Regions from separate parts of the Homo sapiens genome. Here region 2 is linked to region 1. Evidence: promoter capture Hi-C in human tissues and cell types (Jung and others, 2019). All regions are on one chromosome and are shown on one strand. The core of a region is centred on a gene start or on the middle of the fragment in contact, and the rest is flanking DNA. Distances in the headings are between cores, read along the strand shown. Region 1 holds the start of PCSK2 (proprotein convertase subtilisin/kexin type 2). Region 2 overlaps LOC105372544 (a long non-coding RNA gene).

What was found. The method cuts DNA at HindIII sites, captures the fragments that hold promoters and counts their contacts. A contact is called where the count stands out against the background at its distance.
Region 2: a contact is called between a fragment that was not itself captured here and the fragment with the promoter of PCSK2 in region 1, in 4 of the 25 tissues and cell types used here (adrenal gland, heart right ventricle, hippocampus and 1 more).

What each region holds. Positions count from the first base shown.
Region 1 is chr20:17,225,768-17,228,743 of GRCh38, forward strand. It overlaps PCSK2 (proprotein convertase subtilisin/kexin type 2), which reads left to right and starts at 1,273. Exons shown (of 12, transcript NM_002594.5): 1 at 1,273-1,715. The coding sequence starts at 1,539. The HindIII fragment of the contact is 16,215 bases long and covers 1-2,976 here.
Region 2 is chr20:17,128,337-17,131,153 of GRCh38, forward strand. The region is part of intron 1 of LOC105372544 (a long non-coding RNA gene); the gene reads left to right. Among named protein-coding and RNA genes, the nearest start is that of PCSK2, 97 kb to the right of the region's middle. The HindIII fragment of the contact is 3,310 bases long and covers 1-2,817 here.

The sequences.
Region 1 (2,976 bases), core at 23-2,522:
GATCTCTTACCTCTTATCTAAGTAAAGCAGAATTTTGAGCTTTGAAGCTAAATGATACAATGAGATCAGTGTAAATACTCTTTAACACAACAATATTTGAGTAGCTTTGAAACAGTCGTCCTCATTTCGTTACATACAGAACGTTCGTGCTTCCTCCCTCTCAGGCAAGAAGCGGAGTCCGTCGTCAGCAGTTAGCAGAGTCCAGTGCGAGTGCACGTTTCTTAACCGGATAACTTAGTTGCCCCTGCCCCCCGTCGCTGCGCCCGAATTCGCCTCCAGTAGAAGACGTTCAGCGGGCGACTTGGCCCGGCGCCTGGGATCGGTGGCTATGCGTTCCCCAACTAGCACCCTCGCTGTCCTTGTGCAGTGGAACGTCCCCAGGTCTGAGAATGCACCTCCCGCCGTGTCCACCCCGGCCGCGTCTCTCCTGAAGGCAGATCTTGGAGGTGCAGCCAGGACTCCTAGAGGAGCCTCCTCCAGTCACCATCGCGGGTGGGGCGAGCCGGGTCTCCTGCTGGGCTTCCCAGCCGCTTCGCTCCGGACCTGCCTGGAGCCTACAAAAAACAAGGGCTCGTCCTTGCACTCTCGCCCCCCATGGATCACCCCTAGAAGGTGCTTTCCCCAACCCTCCTGGTGCCAAGGAGAGCAAACCTCCCCGGGGATTTGCCCAAAGTGGTGGGAGGAGGGTTAATATTTGCTTTGTTATTCGGATAAGGGGAGGCAAGTATGCCTTGGGTGTGTGTGTGTGTGTTTGAGAGAGAGAGAAAGAGAGAGAGAGAGAGAGAGAGGTGTTTTTGCAGCGGGAAACAAGCAGGAAGAGGCACAGAGGCCGGCGCCCCTGCTCCCCTCGGGGCCTCTGAGAGCGGCACACACCGTAATTCCCTTCCCAGAGCCTACAGATTCCCACAAACAATGACATCACTCCGCCGCCGCTGGCCTGATTACAGCTGGGGGGATTTTCCTGGGCGCGCGGCGGGCCAGGCTGAGATGGGGGAGCTCTCCGGTGCTGAAAGGGGCGGGGGCGCGGGCTCGCTGCGCTGCGCTGCGCTGCGCTGCGCCCCCAGAAGGCGGAGGCGGCCGGGCCGGGCCGGGCCGGGGGTGGGCGGGGGCGGGCCCGGGGCGGCCCAGGGCGGGGCCCGCCGCTTCCCCCGCCCTCATTGGCCGCTGGCGGACTCACGTCACCCGAGCTGGTGCTCTCCCCCAGCCCCTAGGGAATTGGAGCTGAGGAGGAGCTGAAAATGCAGATTTAGCATCAAGCACAGACCTACACTCGCTCTTTCTCTCCGGTACACACAGCTCCCCACATTCGCACCCCTGCCCGCGCGCCGGGCCGCCTGACTGCACGGCTTCCCCTCCAGCCAGATGCTGGAGAACACACACTGATTCGCTGCTTTCCAAGACCCTGTTCAGTCTCTTTCTCTATACAAAGATTTTTTTAAAAACTATATATAAGAATTCTTTATTTGCACCCTCCCTCCGAGTCCCCTGCTCCGCCAGCCTGCGCGCCTCCTAGCACCACTTTTCACTCCCAAAGAAGGATGAAGGGTGGTTGTGTCTCCCAGTGGAAGGCGGCCGCCGGGTTCCTCTTCTGTGTCATGGTTTTTGCATCTGCTGAGCGACCGGTCTTCACGAATCATTTTCTTGTGGAGTTGCATAAAGGGGGAGAGGACAAAGCTCGCCAAGTTGCAGCAGAACACGGCTTTGGAGTCCGAAAGGTAAGCTCTCCCATGCATTTCGCATGTTGTTTCAAAACGGGGGGACGGGGGGGCAGCCCTGCGCAATCTCATTGCAGATTTGCAAGTTTTCTCTCTTTCTCATGCGATGCAGATATTCTGCCATGGGCTCTTTAACACGATATTGCCTCCGGTGATCTTTCACCGGTTATGTAATTAAAATGTCCTTCATCTGTACTAGTAAGGTCATCAAAATAATTTACTGCTCTTTGACTTGATGGCGAAAATAGGATAACACCTTTCACAGGATGCCATGCTCCGGGGATGCTGTCCGAGGTACCAAGTTCTCGAGGCTGCCTGGGGATGGAGGGATGAAGCCCTGAACAGCTAAGCCTGGCGTTGGCTACTTGGCCAGGGAAGTCTCCCCCACCCCCATCCCCCGGAGAAAGAATAGTTTCCTACAGACGAGGCTGGACGTTTGGACACTGCAATTCACCTCGGTGTTTCTCCCACCCCGCGCCGGGAGGACTTCCCTCCCAGGGACTTCGGTCCCTGCTCCTCTCCGGGAACAACGGCTTCCTGACTCTAGATTTGGAAAGAAACTGGTCTCTAAAATCGGGGCGGAACTTCTGCGCCCTCACCCCCGCCCACGACCGCCCACCCCTGGAGCGCACTTCTGGTTGGCTCCCTAGTTCTCAACTCCCGGCTACAGGAGCTGGAGAGGTGGATTTTGAGGGGGATTCCCTACGGAGAAGTCGAGGTGTCCTCTCCTGATGCGTGGGCGGCCAGCCTGGCTTTCCCACTAGAGCGTGGGGATCCCCATTCCAAGAAGTTGCCAGAGTTCGACAGTTTGAGCAGATAGGTGAGCCTCCCAGCTTTGGACACCTTGGATCTCCTTTGGAGACTCCAGGGTACTCATCCTGGGAGGACAGAGAGAAGGGCGCTGGGTGGGGGCTGTGGCTGACCTGCGTGTCTCTCCTGCAAAAGATGTATCAGGGTTCTCCAGTGTCCTTAGGGGACCTGGCGCAGGCTGGGGTGGAGTGTGGGTGCAGAGAGAAGGTGGGGCGAGGGGAACCCAAAGGACAGAGATGTGGCTACCAGAGGGCTGGGTGGAGGTCCCTGAGATTTTAGGCTCCATCTCGCTCCTGATCCCAGGAAGAGAGAGGAGTGAGATGAGCGGTGGGTGCTTTTGGTTATTGGTTTTGCCTTGAAGGGCCGCGCAGACCGAAGCTCTTATTAGTCTCTTCTGTCCTGACTTCCCAAGCCTCCCGCCTCTCTCCCAGCCACCGCCAGGGCTCCTCCA
Region 2 (2,817 bases), core at 148-2,647, 97 kb before region 1:
TATTCTGTATATGCACATGAAAAGACACCCTGGAGATGCTGTCTATGAGAGAACAATGGACATCTTGTTGACTTAACTTCCCAAGACTTCAAGGAAGGAATGAGGAATTGAAATTGCTGTTTATTCTCTATTCTATGTATTGGCTTTGAGCCACTGACAATTGAGAAAGTTACATGGATATATAATTTTTTTAATGTCTGTCTCAGCAGAAATAGAAATCAAAAAAGCAAAAGGTAGTCTGTGGGAAATAGACGCTGGGAAGGACACCTCAGGAAGATGAACCATGAACATAGCCCATGTCCACTCACCTGGGTTTCTCCTCTGCGGGCACTCTTTCTTTGCATTCGTTTATCACAAACCTTCTGCTTTCTCTGGTTGGACTCTGGAAAATGTGGCATTATCAAGTAAAATGATTTCTGGAATTTAACTATTCAACTAGAAAAGACCTCAGAGATTTGGGGGAAAAAAATCCCTTACTCATTTCTCAAAAGAGAAGCTGAAGCTCTGCAGGAGATAAATGACCTGCCCAAGATCACACAGTCAGAGCAGATGCAGGCTAACACCCTCTCTCTTTGCTGTCATCTTCTTTAGGAAGAGCAAGCCAAAAGAGAGATCAGAACTGTATGACATCTATGTAGACTTGCCTGATCCTCTAGATTTATTTTATTGGCAAAGAGAGAGGTTAGAGGGAAGCTTGAATCACTTTTCATTTCAGCGTATTCTCTTCAGTTAAGCTGTCCTTTGAGTCATGGGTTGTTTTTCTTTTGGGCCTTTAATTGCCATTACACGGCACATAAAAATAACCCAAGTTCTTAACATGCGTATTTGCAGCAAGAACACTTGATTATATCTCTTCATCAGTCCTACCTGCAGAGGCCACAGGCCTGCGCTCTGCAAGGACTTTTTCTCGCTGGGGCTTTTCTTCTTTGTGTGGGGAGTTAGTGTTTCCCTTGGTGATGGGCCAGGTGTAAACACCCTGCTTATGTAACAAGGCCCCTTTCCTCTGCAGACATGATGAGCTCTGAGGCTCTATGGCAAGACAGTGACCGCACTAACCATCCTTTGGCTGGGGTGACAGTCAGGCAGTCTCTCTATCAAGATGCTCCCAGCTCCCAGGTGATCCTGTCCCAGGACCCCAATTCAAGAGCTGGCTTTCCCTGTTTATTGCATTTGGAATCTTTCTCCTTATGGGTTTGGATGTGTCCAGCTTTTATCTTGGAAATTTTTCCGCTCTGCAGTCAATCCTCTCTCCAACTCAGTTAGTATGTGCTTTCTGCATCACCATTATTCCCTTGCTCGGCGTTTACCTCATTTTTACCTTTCTTGCTCACTTTCACTTCCTTTTAATTCTCTCACTGTTAAATTCTTTTTTAAGCTTCCCATAACCAAAATTACCATTTATTAATATTTCTCCCAGGGTCCCTTCTGCTGGCCCCTGACTGAATCCTCCTTGCTTCCTATTAACAATGCCTCCGCGCATTTCAACGTCATCTGATAGCACAAAATTACAAGCTCTTTGACACTCAAGTATTTTTTTTTTTAAATAAGACTACTTAATGAATTTTGCCTATTGCTAGACATAGAATCTGCCTGAAAAATACCAGGAAAATAAGATGAGGATGTCACTTAGCAACAAATGCCCCCTAAATTATGAACTTCAAAGAAATATTGCTTACTTTGACAATGGTTAAGCGATGCATCTGGAATCAAAGACTTAAGAAATTCCCCACCTCTGACATCAATAAGAAAAGGCTCAGGCTTCACACCTGTTGTTCCCTCTACATGGAAGGCTCTTTCTTCCACTCATGGCCTCACTATTTCCTGCTCAGACTTCAAGTGGTGAATGAATATCACTTCTTCAGGGAACTATGCCCTGACCCTCCAGTCTAAATTATATTCTTTGATTTGATCCTCACATCTGTAGCCCAAACTTCTCATCTGAATTTCCTGCTCTGATATCCAGCTGTCTGTTTGATGTCTCCATCAGGTGTCATAGACATCTTAAACTTAGCAAGTACAAACTGAATCCTTCATTTTTCTCCCTCGCACCTGTTTATACCCTGGTGTTCCCTATTTCAGTAAATGTTCTAGGTAAATGTTAACTATTTACCTAGTTACTCAAACCAGAAACCTTGGAGTCTGTCTTAGGTTGGGTTTCTTAGACACAGAGGCTCAGAAGGGGACTTCTGTCCAATTGATGCATTGCAAGGGAGCCCTCAGGAAACACCAGGCTATGCAGGAAGCCAGACAAGGCAGAAGCAAGAACGTGGCAAAAGACATGGGTGCAGCTGGAATCTAGCATCAACCTGATGCCATGGACATCTGTGGAGCATGAGCAACACAAGAGTTGGCTTACTTTGAGACAAGAAAATGGGGCTTTGTTACTCTGGTCTCAGTGAGTCATTGGTTACAAGCTTCCCACTCCCACCACTTTTCTAGGTGAGTATGCTCCATTGCCTGAGGTCAGAGAAGGAGGACGCTGGGAGCCATTAGCAAGCAACACTCATACCCACTGGGGATAGAGGCACCAGCATGGTGAAGGGGCCTGCATGGAGTCCTGACAGACCTGACTGTACCATCCTGAACTCCATTCTCTCTCTCACTGAACCACCCTCCATCCCACCAACATCACCTTAGTCCAAACCAGCTTCTCCACCTTGACTACTGTGCATTCTCTTGTCAATAGTTGTACTCCTCCTCCCTCCCACAAGAAGTAAGAAATAAAAGGATTAAGGTTGCTTTCTGAGATATAAGCTATAAGACCAATCAGAAAAGAAAAGTGGAAAGTCGCACTTGTAGGAGCAGAATGGCTTCCCT